Regions from separate parts of the Homo sapiens genome. Here all the other regions are linked to region 5. The links are contacts of gene promoters, found by promoter capture Hi-C in blood cells and fetal thymus (Javierre and others, 2016). All regions are on one chromosome and are shown on one strand. The core of a region is centred on a gene start or on the middle of the fragment in contact, and the rest is flanking DNA. Distances in the headings are between cores, read along the strand shown. Region 1 holds the start of ZSWIM6 (zinc finger SWIM-type containing 6). Region 2 overlaps ZSWIM6 (zinc finger SWIM-type containing 6). Region 3 overlaps LINC03122 (long intergenic non-protein coding RNA 3122). Region 4 overlaps PDE4D (phosphodiesterase 4D). Region 5 holds the start of DEPDC1B (DEP domain containing 1B).

Region 1 (3,424 bases), core at 603-3,102, 630 kb before region 5:
CAAATATATTCTACTTTACAAGCCCTGAAAAGAAAGAGACTCTTTTGTTTGGTTTCTCCTTTTCGGAGGGTGACAGAAAACTGAAAGGGGCACAAAAAAACCTGAAAATGAGAACAAAGTGCTGGGTCGTGCCGGGCTGCCGCGCCGCGGGGACGCGGGAGCGGCCGCCGAGCCCTCTGCCTCGCGCTCCTGCAGCCCGCTCGCCCCTTTGGCTGCGAGCGGCAAATCCGCAACTGCCGACCGCGGCTCGCCCGGGGCACCACGACCTGACCACACAGCGCAAACAAAACTCGGGCGGCGGGGCACAAGGGCTGCGCCGCGGCCCGCACAGGGGTGTCTGGAGGCAGCTTCAGAGAAAAGGGAAGCGCTAGCAGCTCCTCCTCAGGCTCGCGCCCTTTAATTAGTAAGCGTCCTACGGGCGAGATGTCCCTCCGGAGACGGAGTCCGGTCCGCCGCCACCTCTCCTCTGCGCCGCTTGGAGACTGAGGAGGCGCAAAGAAAACGACATTTAAACCCCGGGCGGCCAGTGGAGCTCGCCCGGGCCAGACGCCACAGCGACCCGGGAGCGCCGCGGCCGCTCGCCCGTCGGAGCCCTGGGAGGAGCGGCGGCCGAGCGGCTTTAAGTGTATTCCCCTCCCCTCAAATCGCGTGGGGCGGGGGCCAGAAAGAAAAAGGAGCGAGCGACAGGCAGTGGGAGAGGGGGGGAGCGCCGAGCGGCCGGGCCGCGGCCGGCATTGTCTGCGGCCCGCGCCCCCTCCCCCGCCCCGCACAGCCCCGCCACACACACCCTCGCCGGAGGCCGGCCGTCCGCCCGCGCCTTTGTCCACATCCACCCCCGAAACCGGCGAACAGCCCTCCAGGATGTGCTCCCCGGAGGAGGGCGGGTAGGGGAGCGCGGGCCGGGGGCGCGGAGCCCACGGAGGGGCGCGTCCTGCTGATTCATTTCCCACTCGCGCTGGCCCGTCCGGGGCGACGGGGGGCAGGGAAGGGAGGGAGGAAATGGGCGCTCCGCTCAGGAGGACCGTCCGGGCCAGTGAGGACACCCGCAGGGGTGCGGGCGCGCGCGGAACTAGGGGCTGTCCGCAGGAGAAAGGCGGGCACCCCCCCCCCACCCAGGGACTGACGGACGGACAGACGGCTCGCGGCTGCCCCGTGACTCACCGACTTGCAGGACGTTGTCTACGCAGCCGCTTTCCAACAGCGCGATGCCCCGGCGGAAAGGCAGCCGCGTCTCGTCGCCGCCGTCCGCCGCCCCGGCAGCCCCCACCGACGGGGCCCCGGCCCCCGCGGCGGCGGCGGCGGCGGCGGCGGCGGCGGCAGCGGCGGCGGCGGCCGAGGTTGCGGCCGCCGAGGTTGCGGCCGGGGAAGACGAGGAGCCGCCGCCGCCGCCGCCGCCCGCGCCGCCGCCGCCACCGCTGTCGTCGCCGGGGCCGCCCGCGGCGCCGCCGCCGGTGTTGAAGGACGAGTACATGCAGATCTCCCGCTCGCTGCGGGGGAAGGACCAATAGACTATGCGGCGCTGCACCGGCTCCGGGATGCGCTCAAAGCGCTCCTCCACGCGCTGGAACGGCCACTTCTCCGCCACCCTGCGCGCCGCGATGTCCAGCAGCGACTCGGGGCTCTGGGTCTTGCCCGGCGGCAGCAACCCCAGCGCCGCGCCGCCCCCGCACGCCGCCGCCGCCGCCGCGCCACCCGCCCGCGGGCCTGGCCGACAGGCAGAGCTGTAGCCGCCACCCGCGCCGCCGCCGCCGCCGCTGCTGCCCCCGCCGCCGCCGCCGCCGCCCGGCCGGCAGCAAAGCCGTTTCGCGGGAGGAGGCTGCTGTCCGCGCTCCGCCATGACCGCGCCGCTTCTAACCCGACAGCGGAAGTGCCGGGACCCTATAAACGGCACTAGGAAGCGCGACACGCACACGCCGTCGCGACGCCACGATGCCATCTAGGGCCCGCCGCTCCTTGTATGGGCACAAGAGGTGGGGCCTCCGCTGTGACGCAGAAGCTGGGGCGGGGCTCTGATAGGGGGAACCTAGGGCCGGGGGCGGGGCCTATGCAAATCGCTGGGCTGAAACATAAATAGAGCGCTTGGCGGACACGGGGGTGGCGGGGGCGGGCCGTTTTGGTGCCCGGTGGGTTGTGAGAATGTCAGGCTGCTGTGACGCGGGGGAGGGCGGGGTCAGGCGGGGTTCCCGTGGGAGGGGGCGGGCCGCCGGGCCGGGCCTGAGGTGGGTGGGTCTCTGCGCCCCCTGCCTACCCCACTTCCCCCTCCAGTTCTCAGCTTCTCTTTGAAGTCCGAGAAGTGAGGATGCGCCTCGTGGGTCGCAGCGGGGGAGGAAAGGGGAGAAGAGGGGGTGAGCGAAGGGGAGGGTTCTGAGCTAAATGGAGGGCGGGGCCCACGGGCCGATGCCCCACCCCCCCCGTCCCCCTGCCCTTCGGGGGAAAAGCCTCTGGGCGGAGGAGGCGCTTTCAAAACAAAGAAATGCGGCATGGACCCCGGGGGACGCGGGTGGAGAGGAAGGCGGAGGAGGCGCGGCCAAACCCGAGCGCCTGCCAGCTTCCCCTCCAGCCGGTCCAGGGGAGCTCTCCCCACCACCCGCCGAAGCTGCAGCGGGGAAGGGGGAGGATGGCTGCGTTCGGCGGCGGCTTTCCACTTCACTTTTGCAGACCTGGTGTGGAAGGAGCGCGCCCGCTCTGCTAACCCCGCGTGGCTGCAGTGCGCCCATCCCCGAGCCCCGCGTCCGTTCTGTCTCGGCTGCAGGGCTGTGCCCGAAAACACGCAGAGCGCTCGGAACGTGCCCAGCAGCCGCGCGACCCGCGTCCGGTGCCGGCTGCCACCGTCCCGCCCTCGCTGCCTCAGCCCCTCGGGCCAGGAAACCGACCCGCCCGCTAGAAGTCGAGGAGCTCCGGCCGCCCTTGTCGCCCCCGCGGCCGCGCGGACAAGGCCCCGCTCCAGGCCGGGGTTTCTCCAGCTCGGGGTGGAACGCAGCCCGGGCTGTGGGGTTAGCAGACACACCTTTGTGAGTACACACGCCGCAGGGCGCGCGCAAGCCCCACGGGCTCGCGCACACATCGCCCAGCAGGCGGCAGACGGCGTGCCAGGCGGCGGACGGCGGCTTCGGGCGCACTTGGGTCTGCGGCCCGGCTCCCACCCCGGCACCCGGGTGCGCGGCGCCCGGCTGCGCGGAGTCCAGGCGCTCGGGACGCGCGCCGCGCTCTCAGTCGCCTTGGCGGCGCCCGCAGGGCCAGTCCCCTCGGGTCCGGGCAGTGTAGGGGTGGACCAGGGAGAGCGAGTGCAGAGTGCAGCTCGCTGGTGCCTGGACGCGGGCGAAGGCGGAGAAGCGAGTCCCTCTCTGAACCTGGAGCCCTGCGGACATTGTTCGCGCTCCACAGAGCTCGGTCAAATCTGCTTCCAAGCCGCAGACTTAATTAC
Region 2 (3,296 bases), core at 640-3,139, 710 kb before region 5:
AATCTGTTTTCACTGCGGAACTTGCTTTCTTCAATTCCATCTCAACGCAAGCCAAGAAGTAGCCCATAAAAAGAATATGCAAATAGTTAAAACACTAAACAGAACCTAAGACACAAATGTGCTGCCAGCTGCCCCAAATAACATAAACAATAAATGCCTCCACATCACTAATTCCTGATATGCAAGGAAATGGAAAGGGAAGATTCTAAATTCAAGCCCTGAAACATACTAAAATCACACTACACCTGAGCTATCAGTCTTCAGGGGATCAAACCTAGGATGCTGCTTCTCTCCCGACCCCATTTCCCAGCAAACGATGCCAGATCTAAATTATGGTAGTTGCAACTCTGACCAACCCAGAAGTTCTATTCCTGCATAAAAAGCAGTTCAACTTTCTCCTGTGAAGTTTTTCTCTTTTTATCATGAGATCTCAGTATAGGGTCCCAATCTCAATTCCCTGTGATTCATTGGAAGCAATAAGGTATCACGTGCTTTGTCCAAAGTTTCAAACCATCTAATAGAAACTGTAGATTTACCAGAAGTAAAGTTACAAGGCTAACATAACAAAGATCAATTTTTCATTTCTTGTGGGCTGAAATTAAATCAATTTATTGTGGTTACATTGGTTATTTGATCGGTATTAGCAGCTATAATGTCTTTGATTAATTTCCTAAAATCTCAATATATGAATGAAAATGAAAATGCATGCTATGGTCTGCATACTTATCCCCAACCCCAATTCATATGTTGAAATCCTCACCTCCAAGGTGATGTGCCGCCTTTACAAGGTTAAGTAGGTCACGGATGTAGAGCCCTCATGAATGGGATTAGGGCCCTTAAAAAGAGGCCCAAGAGAGACCTTTCATCCTTTCCTTCTACCACATGAAGACACAGCAAGAAGGTGCCATCCAGGAACCAGGAAAAGGGGCCTCATCAGACACCCAATCTGATGGCACCTTGATCTTGGACTTCTTAGCCTCCAGAACTGGGACAAATAAATTTGTATGGTTTATAAGCTACTGGTTAAAGGTATTTTTGTTATAGGAGCCTGAGTGGATTAACACATTGAAGACAATATATTTCAAAACATGTGTTAACTAGACAAAAGTAATTTTAAAGTGTTCTTATTAAAGACAAGGTTGAAATTTCCTGAAACATTTTAGAGTATTCAGGAAGCAAAACTATATTCTAGCTTTGTCCAAAAGCTTCCAATTAGGGGGTTGTTTCTTCACTAATATCAAGACTTCAGGGAAGCAATTTTTACTGTATTCCCATCCTTTGTAACTCAAAATGTGCTCACCTTAGTTGTCATTAAAGTTTAAAAAACAATTGAGTCACACTTAAGTCCAAATACAGACTCATCCAACAAGACACAAACATTCACTCCATATTTTGAGAGGACTGTATTTTAGAAGAACTGATAACTAATTTGGCAAAAACAAAGAAAGGAAACCTCATTCTAAATACACACTCAAATCACTCAAGGCTCCACTCCTAGAGCACAGGACCTCCCAGCGACTTTGCTGCAGTGCTTCAGACAAGCAGAGAGATGGAGAGACCAGTCAGCATCCACACCAGGTTGCCATTTCTTCTGCTGCCCTTTCCAAGCATGCCAAACCATAGTGTATTATTAACCAGAATATTCTTACGTCTTCATAAAAGCGTTTTTTGCCTTGAGTCCTGTTATAGGAAAACTAATAAAAAGCATTTTCCCCTGGAGAAACTAAGACACGATGAGATTAAAAGTGGACAAAGTCGTATAACTGGTGACTTAGCAAACTAAGCACACTTCATACCTCATTCTTAATTCAATGTTCAATCTGTCAAATATTCCTGTTGGCTATTCTATGTATTAAATGAAATGACCTTAATATTTGAGTTCAATGTAACAGTAGTTTACAACTCTGTACTCTTAAAATTATTCTGCATGAAGTGTACTATCAACAAAAAGGTATCTAAGTGAAAAACACCAGTCTTTAGAATCTAGTCAGATGGTTTAAAAAGGAAATAAATCGCCGGGCACGGTGGCTCATGCCTGTAATCCCAGCACTCTGGGAGGCCAAGGTGGGTGGATCACGAGGTCAGGAGATCGAGACCATCCTGGCCAACATGGTGAAACCCCATCTCTACTAAAAATACAAAAATTAGCCAGGCATGGTGGCACGTGCCTGTAATCCCAGCTACTCGGGAGGCTGAGGCAGGAGAATCGCCTGAACCAGGGAGTCAGAGGTTGCAGTGAGCCGAGATCGCACCACTGCACTCCAGCCTGGCAACAGAGTGAGACTCCGTCTGAAAAAAAAAAAAAAAAAAAGGAAATACATCCATTATTACAATACTATTCACAAACTCAGAACACTTAAATTCTGTGCAATTGTCAATGTGGGGCTGAGCACTAGAGTACCGGGGTAATTTAGGGCTACACATGTTGCCTTTTGCCAAGGCTGGTCCTGAGTTTTCGTAGTTTTGTATCTTCCTGGTCTATATGCTGACTTCACCTTAGTTGGGCTGCTATACATAGGTGAAATCACAGTGATTGTGCCTAAGGAAACCATGAAGATCATACGGAAGCTTCTCAACATGAAGGACAAATAAGTCCAAGGCTTCCTCTCATGAAAGGCTAAAACTCCCTTTATCAAAAGTCACAACAGTGCCACTTTTACAAATCTGGGGTCCCTGAAAGAGTTACTCAAATCAATTAAATTAACTATCAGATAACTTCAGTAGCTACTCAAAATAGTCTTCCTTTACTGGCCTGATCAAGTAACAATGTTTTCCATGGAGCTTAATGGCTCCTTTTAGATCCTTGTCTATGAACTGGTATTGCACTCCATGCTTACCCACCCGCAGCTCTCACCATCCCACATATCCCTCTCCACAAAAAGCTAATAAATTTGCATTCCTGACTCTGACTCATACAACTAAGAAACCGAAGACTAACAAAACTCTTAGGTATGACTAAGCAAAATGATCTAATTAATAAATAGTCAAGAAATACAAATGTTTTTAAAAGTAAAATTAACCATCAAGAAAACAGGGTATGGTGGAGAAGGGGGAACTATAGCTCTAAACACCATCCTTGTAAGTTGCTACCAAGAACCCACATTTTTCTTTAAAGGCTGAAAATCAGCAGTAATAACCCAAAACTATCTTGCGCAAAGGTGGTCTTAATAGAGATATAATTAATCTTGCCAATTTTCCACATAATTTCTCTCCTTTTTTGATCTTTTGCTTTACAAAATCATGCTTGAAAACTTTTACAATTTCTTTCTGGTAGCAATTCTGAAATGAAAATGGAC
Region 3 (3,270 bases), core at 196-2,695, 960 kb before region 5:
TCTCAATAATGTACTTGGATAAATGGGCAATTTTTGATGGCCCAAAAAGATAATAACCGTTTGGTTCTGAACGTCACTGCTTTCCTAAGGTACATGTTCCCCCTTTTCAGACTTTATTATTTGTTGCATTTATTCAAGAAAGGTTATCCACAGTAAAACTGCTTTTTCTATTCAACAGTCTATCTCTGTCATGGTTCATTTATGTGTGAGCATGACGGACTGAAGCCCGTATTATCCACAGCTGACAAGTGTCAGGCCGACAGTTCAATCAGCCCTTCCTCGAGATGATGCCCAGGGCCCCGTGTTTGAAGTAGGACAATAAAGCAGGCAACACAATCCGGGCAAACTGATCCGATCCCTGTATGTAAAGGGGATTCTGCTTAATAACACAGTGTGGTTTTTTTCCCTCTCCAAACACATTAGTCCTTAAACAGTGAGTTGGCCCTTAAGAAAATCTGTGACTGACATGAAAATGCTGAAGTTTTAAGGTGGTTGGTTTATCCGTAACCTCATGGGGCTGCTTCTTTGTGCAGACTAGTTTTGTCAAAGTCAGAAAAATAATGTATTCAGTGTCTGATCATTTTTAGGGAGTTATTCGAATGGGATTTTAAGTCAGACATCCTGATGTTGACACAGGGATCATTTTCTTGTCCTTTTGTTTTACATTTGTGGAACAGATCATTTGCATTGGCTAATAAAATTAAATCTCTGAAATGCATACAAAAGTGAGTTCCCTTCAGCAACAATCCTCAATTCCCTCCACCAGCCGAGTAAGCAGAGTTGCTGGGTGTGTTTCTTTATATTGGGTCTCTCTAGAACACAGGCTATAATGCAAACATATCTTCAAAATTAGTGCTCCTTCGGCCTGGGTAACACTTAGACTCAAATGTATATTAAAGTATTTCACTACAGATCCTGACAATCAACAGCAGAGCCAAAGTCGATAAAATGCTAATAACCTGCTGCGGTCTGTTCCTTGGAGGACTGGGGTACTGCTGTTGTGCTCTCTTCCAGCCTTCAAACCATTGCAGGCGACAACGGGCAAGGGAAGGCGGCTCACCCCTTTAGAAGGGGCCAGAGCACTACATGCCTTTCATAAGGAGGAAGCCAAAGACCCTCTTAAAGCATCATAAAACCTTCAAGCCAGAAGGCACAATGCAAAACATCAAACCCAACCTCTTCCATACTTGATGAATGAGGCTCAGAGACATTTTTGTGACTTCCAACGTCAGAGAGCTTGTAAGTAGCAGTGGAAGGAAAAGGTTAACAACAACAACAAAAGAATCCTCTGAATTTTGCTTCTCTTTATATGACTTTACTAGGCTGGGCAAGTTAGTGCAGAAGGGACTGATGAAAAGCAGAATCCAGAAGTCAGAACGTGAGGAATGATGCCGGCAACTACCAAACATGACTTCTGTCAATTTCCTTCTTGCACAATGCTGGAAGTCCTAAGTAACGTATTTTCTGTGAATGTTGGTTTTTCTCCGTCTACCCTGCTCTGTCCGAATCTACCCATTTACTGCATTCTCTCCCCCACTTTGACCCCACAGACCACATCACCCAAACACCCTTGGCTGCTGGCTTCCAACTGTATTAGAGACGAGGGGAGGCACTAATGGCCAGTCAAGTGGGAAGAGAGAAGCTACACTGTGTCCTTGTCCCCTGCTTGGACTCCCCATCTCAGAAGAAGACTGTGTCCCTCCAGCACTCCTGCTTCCACCGAGAGGCTCTTCCTCCAGGGCTCCAACTATCATGGGCCCCAGTCCCTCAGTTTCCTCCCCTTGGCCCTTCATCCTTGGGGATACCAGCTCCCCACTGGTGCTAAACTTGGGGTGCCTCCCATCTCTTGTTTGTCCACCTACCTCTGCCCACACTTCTGAAGTAGCCCCTTCTTTAAAGTCTCCAGCAGAACCATCTCCAGTGAGTTCTGTTTCCTGCTGGGACTCTGATGCATTGAGTGATTTGCATTGCTAACTGATCCTACTTCTAGTCCAGTAGTTCTTAGGATATTCTAAAATCCCACAGAGAATCTGATGAAAGCTATAGGATCTCTTCCCACACACACAAAAAAGTCACTTCTGCACATATGCATAAAATTTCAGACAACTGTGGCATGCTCATAGACACTTAAAGGCTATTTACAAATTTTCTAGGGCATCCATGAAACCCCCAATATCAAACACCCATTTGCTCCATTTGATCATATCACGTCCTTCTCAAAAGCCTCTCCTGATGTCAAATCAACTACCAGAAAGCATGAAACCCAGACTCCTCAGAGCAGCATTTCAGGCTAAATCTGCCAGGGCCCCATTAACAAAAGAGCTGAAGGGGAAATTTAATACAGGGGAGTTGTTGCAAAGGTGGAGAAAGAGGTGAAATGACAAGGGCAATGGTAAGGCAATCCAAAGATCAGCACCAGCAGCAAGCCAGGAATGAGGCCTGAGGGTCAAAGGAAAGAGGTGATGTCACCAAAGCCCAGGAGCCAGGGCTGTCCGGGGGAGCCAAAATCATAACAGGGGTCTCTCGACAGGAGCTGGAGTCCAGAAAAAAGACCCAGCCACAGCTGGTGATGCTGCCAAAGCAGAAAGAGAAGGTGAGGACTCTCAGGGCTTCTTTTCTCCTGCAGCTCTCCAGTCTTCACAGACCACATGACTCAGCAGCTAGCTGAGCAAAAGCCTGCAGGGATGCCTGAGGACCAGGGCAGGGGGAAGGCTGCGATGAGCATAAGATACAACAGGCCAGCCCAGGCATGGTGGCTCACGCCTGTAATCCCACCACTTTGGGAGACCGAGGCAGGTGGATCATCTGAGGTCAGGAGTTCAAGACCAGCCTGACCAAAATGGTGAAACCCCATCTCTACTAAAAATACAAAACTTAGCCAGGCATGGTGGCGGGCGCCTGGAGTCCTAGCTACTCAGGAGGCTGAGACAAGAGAATTGCTTGAACCCAGGAGGCGGAGGTTGCAGTGAGCCAAAATCGCACCACCGCACTCCAACCTGGGTGACAGAGCAAGACTCTGTCTTAAAAAAAAAAAAAAAGGTACAACAGGCCAATGAGTCATACAAAAACCCTTCCTGACCTGGCCTCTCCTGCTCATGCAGCCATGATAGAACCTGGGTTCTCATATCTGTTGTGCACTAACTGTGTGTCAGGCACTGGTTCAAGGAGGAAAGCTGCAGTATTCAGCCCAAGAGTTGCAAGTAAATAAGACCGAGCCTGGTGAATTGCTCAGACAGAAAAGTAGCAAGAGTGGTAAATTAGAGCGGGAGA
Region 4 (3,024 bases), core at 147-2,646, 880 kb after region 5:
AGAAAGCCTTTGTCACTGATGGCTTTGAAATTGTTCAAATGACTTTGCAGTTCACAACACGTGAGCTTAATCATTGGTTTGGCTCTTCTGAGGAGCTGAGGGAGACAAAGAAGCAAAGTTATTTTCCCAGAGGTAGTGAGGCCCAAGATGCTCAGAAAAGATTTAATTGAAAGATGCCATTGCTGAAATTTCTTTTATAATGTTCTGCCTGTGGCTTTCCAATAGTAATAGTAGTAGCAGTTGTTGTAATAATAGAGATAGTAGTTGTATTGATAGCAATAATAATAGCTACTATTTATTGAGCACTGACTGTGTTTCAGGCATGGGTCCATGCACTTTACATATATTAACTCATTTAAACCTCCCAACAACCTAACAAGGTAAAGATGATTATTATCCCATTTCACAACTGAGCAAACTGGGACATGAGATTTAAGGAACGTGCCCAAGCTCACACAGCTAGGCGATCACCAATTATACATTTCCTCTCTGCAAGAGAACAGTCTATTTTTCAAAAACATGCTGATAAAACAGCAATCCCATTTGCTTCTAAGGACAAACCCTGCCATGCCTGAGTGTTGCCATTCTTAAACTCCAGGCCAGGGCTTGCCTTTGGATACATGTGAGCTTCACTGGGCTCTCTGCTCAATGTCCCTCCTCAGAGTGTCTCCCTAACCACCTCTCTTGATCTCTCTCCACCCCTTTATTCCACTTGGGTTTTCTTCAGCACACTTAGGGCTACCTGACAGTGTTAGCAAGGCTACAAAGCAAAACACCAGATGGGGTGGCTTAAATAACAATCATTTATTTTCTCACAGTTCTGGAGGCTGGAAGCTTGAGATCAGTGTGCCAGCTTGGTTCAGTGCTGGTTATGGGTCTCTTCTTGGCCTGCAGACACAGACACCTTTTCACTATGTCCTCACATGGCCTTTCTGTGTGTGTGTGGGGGGGGGTGTGGGTGTGTGCGCGCGCGCGCGTGCCTGCATGCCTGTGTAGGGAGAAAGAGAAAGCTCTTTGCCTCTTCTTATAAGGTCAGATTAGGACCCTACCCTTATGACCACATTTAAACTTATTTACTGACTAAAAGCCCTATCTTCAGATATAGTGACATTGAGAGTTCAACATATGAACATATGAGCTGATAGGAATATATGAATTGATGGGAACATATCAACACTTCAACATATGAATTGGGGTGAGGGACGCAATACAGTCCATAGTGGTGACCCAGCATATATTTAATAGGTCATTAATGTGTTTACTATGTGTCTTTCCCACTCCTCCCGGTATTAGTAATCTAAATACCAGTAAGGATTTGAGGTTCTTCTTTGTTGTATTCCTAATACCTAAGACACTGTCCCACACATGGTAGATGTTCAATACATATTTGTTGGATAAATAAAAAATACAGAGCTCCCTCTTCTCCCCTACATGTTGGAAAATGTGTGTGATCTAAATGAGGGAGAGGGAGAACCATCTCATCTAATCTTCCAAACTTCCTGAGCCACCTTTAGCTACTGAGCACATTCACGTTTCCGTCAGCTGGGAATTTAGGTGCCCTGCCTATCATCCTCTGGAGCCCATCCCAGGAGGGGGCAGAAGGAGGTGGAGCAGCACACTAGTGTTCCCAGAGTGGGGAGAGCAGATGGAGAGGAGTTCATGGGAACGATGATTTACCCCTGCTCACTTACCCCTGTGAGAGGACACTGCCCTCCACGAATCAATGCTGGCTCCTCCTCCAGGAACCAGGCTTCTGCATCTCACTTGCCATGCTGTGGATCTAGGAACAAATTTGCATTTGGAAATTCATTTTAAAGTGTGCATGCTGAGGTTCTGGTGACATGCAGGGTAACTTCTCCCACCCACGATATCTCTTGACTCAGGCCTTCATGTAGGAGGGGAGGAGTGTTTGGCAGCAAAACTGGGTATTTCTTAGGAAGGAAATCCTTCTAAGCTTTATGGAAATCCTAGGGTGTTGTCCCTACCTTTCTGAGTGTGGAGCAGACTATCTGTGTACATAGCGGTAGTGAGGGGTGTAATATTGGAGAATGGCTTAGGTAACAGCCAAAATATACATTGTATATCCCCAAAAAGACGACCAAAGACTCACAGGCCATGCTGCTATCATTAGATATAATAGGCATAGCCTTTCATTGATATGTAAATGTTAGTATTTTTGGTAAGTGCCTTATTTTATCTTCTGGATAATATAAGATACAAGTACCATGAGGGCAGGATCCTTCTCTCATTCATTTTTTTTCCCAAGAGCATAGCACAAAGTAGGAAGTACTTGTTGAGCGAATGAATGATCCTAAATATGAAAGGATGGCATTTTATCGCCATTTTCCAGATGAGAAAAAAACGAGGGAGCTTATCAGGTTTATATATAGTGAGTGACAAACTTCAGAATTAAACCAAAATCTAGTAATTCCTATAACTTACAGGTTATTAAGGAGTCCACCTGAATGTAAGTCCAACAAGACAGGTGTTTATTTTGTTTACATACATTCCAAGTACCTAAGACAATGCCTAACATATATAAAATACTTCATAAACATCTTCATGTGTGAATAGAATTTTCAAAGTTCATCTCAATATATGCCTCATGTGACACTTCCAACCCTTCACTGCCAGGTCTTTCAGTCTTTATTTGAATAGGTTCAGTAAGAAAGAATTCACTCGTGCTTTAGATATGTATGGCTTTTCCACATTGTTGTCAGTTCTAAATCCCGAAAGTTATTTTTGTATGCTTGGAATACTTCACAATATTCACAATTTTTACAATAAAATAATTTCAGGTCTTCTTGATGAAAAATGTCGATCAGGACAGGGCTGAGGATAATCACAAGGCTTGAAATTAAAGAAGTCTCCTTAGGCTGAAATGAATTTCTAGTTGTAAAACCAAATATGAATCTATGTATTTGTGTTCCTCAGACCACTTTTCCAGCAGGTCCTTGGCTGTATTTTGTATGCATTTGTGAAATGCTTTGTTGAAATTCAGTTTCAGCCAGGTCTGTAGCATTC
Region 5 (3,242 bases), core at 52-2,551:
AATACTTGCCTTGGTCTCTCCTTTTGCCTTATGCCCCTCAGTCGAACTCTTTCTTCTGAGGAGTCAAGAATTGAGGTTGCTGCAGATCTGTAGGAATTCACTGCCTGTAACATACTTTGGGGCCGTGTCTCGGATATGGGCAGCTGCTAACATATTTTGGTGCCCTGTGACTCGAGTTAACTTCCACAGCTCACAAAGGCAGTAACATTTTCTAGGGAGTCACTAGAAGATATATGTAAAAAATCTCCTATATCTCCTAGTGGAAGATAGGGTTACTTCGTTAAGAATGTTTATTCAGGTCCACTGCAGCCTTCAATTCCAAGCCTTTGGTGATAAAGGCTATTTTCTCACCGTGGTAGGGAGAGGATGCCCATCCCAGAGAAATCTTTGTGGCCTGCTGCATCGAAGAGGCAGGTCAGCTTGCCCTTTCTGAAACTACCATTTCTCCAATGTTTTCCGCTCGAAATAATCAATATACCAATTAGGCATATTTTGGAATGGCACACCTTCACTCCTTCAACGTCTTGTCCTGGGTACTTACCGAGATGACCAAATTTGAGTAGGTGTACAGAGTCCTAAGTATATGGAGTTACTTCATTTGTCCCTCTGAAAGATTGCAAATCGGACTAGCAATTCCCAGGGGGAAAATTCTAAGCAGTCAAAAAAGGACTCACAACCCTATTGCCGAGGACTAAAAGTATCAGCCCAATACAAAACATAGAACTCAAATTAAAGGGGAAAAGACTATCATGAGAACAAACAGAAGAGGAATCGGGGCTCCCTTCCCGCTCTTTATTGCCCTTAACACACTGTCTACGCTCCTTGTGCTCTCTATCCCGTTTTTAAATGTCCCTACACTGGTAAAAGCTGTCGCCTCGCTTCATTTCACTACCGCTTCTCCCAGCGTTAGCAGCACCTCCAGGCTCACAGTGCACTTGGTAGGGAGGACAGGTATTTATCCACGCGGCCCAAAGCTGGGTTTCGGTCGCTGGATAACACCTATTATTGACCCTTTTGTAGAGATAGCGTTGCGTGTGTTTGTGTTGCGCGGACGCAGAAATCTGGGAAGGGCGCTGCACAGCGTTTTCCAGCGCTGGGGAGACGCCCCCGGCCCCTTAGTCGCACCTGCCTAGGTGTGCTCGCACGGTGGGACCAGGGTGGGCAACAGATTTCGCCCCGGGCAAGTTCGCACGCGGAGCTCCCAGCGCCGCGGGTCTCGGAGAAGACGCCTGCCTCCCCGCGCATTTCCGGTGACGTGCTGCCGCGCCGCCCAATCAGCGCCCGCAGCCCGCGGGCTTGGGATTCAAACTGCTGCTCCTCCGGCTGGCGGGGATCAGCGCTGGCGCGGCTGCGGCCGCTGCTGCCTACGCGCCATGGAGCATCGCATCGTGGGGCCCGGGCCGTACCGAGCTACCAGGCTGGTGAGTGAGTGTGCTGGGGCCTGGGCGGAGCACCCGGTGCCGCGAGCCCCCACTCAGCGCGCGGACAGAGTGCTTGTCAGTCTTCGCTTCCGCAGGCCAGCGGGGCTCGGGTGTGGAGCATTTCAGCTGGGACTACTGGGGCTGCCTTTTAGTGGACGAGCCTCAAAGAAAGGCTAACGGGGCCCAGAGCTCAGCCGGCCGGGGGTTAGTGCAGCTTTGTCCATGAGATGTTGACTGGGTTCTCGGCAGTAGATGGCGCCTCTCTGTTTAAAGACCCCAAGACCAGGCTGTTCCCTGCCTTTTGTCCTCTGGAATCTAACCGACCCGGTCGGTAACCTGAGGGGCCACCACGTACCCCGTAACGCTCAGCGTTCGCGGCAGTCCAGGCAGGGCGTGTCTCCTTCCTGAGTGACACCTGATGATACCTGACGGGGTATTCGAATAAACGGTGCCCAGAACAGAGGGGCATCGCGCTGGCCGCATTTCCGGCCCCTGGCGTTTCTGTTTCTGTCAGCACCGATCCAGATGAAGAGCTGGCCAGGACAGATGTTTTAGGAGAGTCTTTGCCGACTCTGAGTTCCTGTTTTTTTTTTTTTTTTTTTCTGGGAGAAAAGCTTTGGTATTGAGGTGTACTTGGTCTGCTTTGACTTGGAACAATAAAGGGTGACAGTTTGGTAATGTCTGTGGCAAGTTTTTAGAGGACTTTCTGTGGAAGTGTAATGGTAATTTGGGAGGACAGTAACTTGCTCCTTGGTCTGCCGACCTCTCTGGCCACATTTAACATGGGAATTACTCTCATAGTTCCATGCATTATAATGAATACACAGGAAAAGATGGGAACTAACATCCAAACTCTTACTCAGCTAGACTCATGGAAGAGGTGAGGATGCTGGGATACAGATAATGTAAATAGAGTTTCCTTTTCTTTCCAAAGCCAGCCACACACTATACCAGTAAGTCAAGCCAGAGCTGAGAAGGCCAGCTTCTGGAAGAGAAATCATAGTTGGGGCTGATGGGTCTTTACTTTTTAAATTTGGCTCATAGATCGCTTTGAGAATCTGATGAAGATTAAGGATCTTCTTCACAGAAAACTGCACATGGCACATACTCATGAAATTTTACATGATTTAAGGGGATGGATCGCTTGAGGTCAGGAGTTCGAGACCAGCCTGGCCAACACAGCAAAACCCCGTCTGTACTAAAAATACAAAAATTAGCTGGGCATGGTGGCATGCGCCTATAGTCTCAGCTACTCAGGAGGCTGAGGCAGGAGAATCTCTTGAACCTGGGAGGCAGAGGTTGCAGTGAGCTGAGATCGCGCCATTGCACTCCAGCCTGGGCAACGAGCGAAACTCCATCTCAAAAAAAAAAAAAAATAATAAGGAGATTGGGAGAGTCTGTGACATTGTTTTATTTGGCATAAAGACAAGCATTTTATTTGCTCATCCTTTGGATCAGTAATCTGGGCTAGACTCATGTCAATGGTTCTTTTGTGGAGGTCACTCATGTGCCACAAATAATGTGACTTGGCTATTACTGGATGATGGAAGATGGCTGCTTGACTTGGTCCTGGCTGTTACCTGGGCCAGATATCTCTAACAGGTTATCGGAGGCATCTTCACGTAGTGGTCTCATGGTTCCAACGTAGCTAAAAGGAAGTTTCAGCTTGTGACTTTTTCTTCAAATCTCATTGGTCAAAGCAAGTTAAACAGCTAAATCCAGATTCTAGAAATTCAACTCCACTTCTTGATGGGCAGGGTGGCAAAGCCACAGAGGTGCATGTGGAGAGGATGGGAAGAATCATTGCACTCATCTTTGCGA

What was found. The method cuts DNA at HindIII sites, captures the fragments that hold promoters and counts their contacts. A CHiCAGO score of 5 or more calls a contact.
Region 1: a contact is called between the fragment with the promoter of ZSWIM6 here and the fragment with the promoter of DEPDC1B in region 5, in 1 of 17 cell types (total CD8 T cells). The highest score is 6.3, in total CD8 T cells.
Region 2: a contact is called between a fragment that was not itself captured here and the fragment with the promoter of DEPDC1B in region 5, in 1 of 17 cell types (total CD8 T cells). The highest score is 6.1, in total CD8 T cells.
Region 3: a fragment that was not itself captured here is called in contact with the fragment with the promoter of DEPDC1B in region 5 in 1 of 17 cell types (total CD8 T cells); the score reaches 5.5 in total CD8 T cells.
Region 4: a fragment that was not itself captured here is called in contact with the fragment with the promoter of DEPDC1B in region 5 in 1 of 17 cell types (monocytes); the score reaches 6.0 in monocytes.

What each region holds. Positions count from the first base shown.
Region 1 is chr5:61,330,686-61,334,109 of GRCh38, reverse strand. ZSWIM6 (zinc finger SWIM-type containing 6) reads right to left here and starts at 1,852. Exons shown (of 14, transcript NM_020928.2): 1 at 1,162-1,852. The coding sequence starts at 1,837. It overlaps LOC105378994 (a long non-coding RNA gene), which reads left to right and starts at 1,894. Exons shown (of 2, transcript XR_007058781.1): 1 at 1,894-1,970. RefSeq lists silencers at 958-1,067, 1,848-1,987, 2,098-2,497, 2,708-2,777, 2,808-3,387 and 2 more and an enhancer at 3,192-3,424. The HindIII fragment of the contact is 10,173 bases long and covers 1-3,424 here.
Region 2 is chr5:61,409,325-61,412,620 of GRCh38, reverse strand. The region is part of intron 1 of ZSWIM6 (zinc finger SWIM-type containing 6); the gene reads right to left. Among named protein-coding and RNA genes, the nearest start is that of ZSWIM6, 79 kb to the right of the region's middle. The HindIII fragment of the contact is 1,363 bases long and covers 1,208-2,570 here.
Region 3 is chr5:61,654,218-61,657,487 of GRCh38, reverse strand. All of the region lies in intron 1 of LINC03122 (long intergenic non-protein coding RNA 3122), which reads right to left. Among named protein-coding and RNA genes, the nearest start is that of LINC03122, 18 kb to the right of the region's middle. The HindIII fragment of the contact is 4,377 bases long and covers 1-3,270 here.
Region 4 is chr5:59,815,672-59,818,695 of GRCh38, reverse strand. All of the region lies in intron 1 of PDE4D (phosphodiesterase 4D), which reads left to right. Among named protein-coding and RNA genes, the nearest start is that of PDE4D, 77 kb to the left of the region's middle. The HindIII fragment of the contact is 1,120 bases long and covers 837-1,956 here.
Region 5 is chr5:60,698,225-60,701,466 of GRCh38, reverse strand. It overlaps DEPDC1B (DEP domain containing 1B), which reads left to right and starts at 1,301. Exons shown (of 11, transcript NM_018369.3): 1 at 1,301-1,421. The coding sequence starts at 1,374. LOC124900982 (a long non-coding RNA gene) reads right to left here and starts at 1,227. Exons shown (of 2, transcript XR_007058779.1): 1 at 1,126-1,227. The HindIII fragment of the contact is 2,062 bases long and covers 1-2,037 here.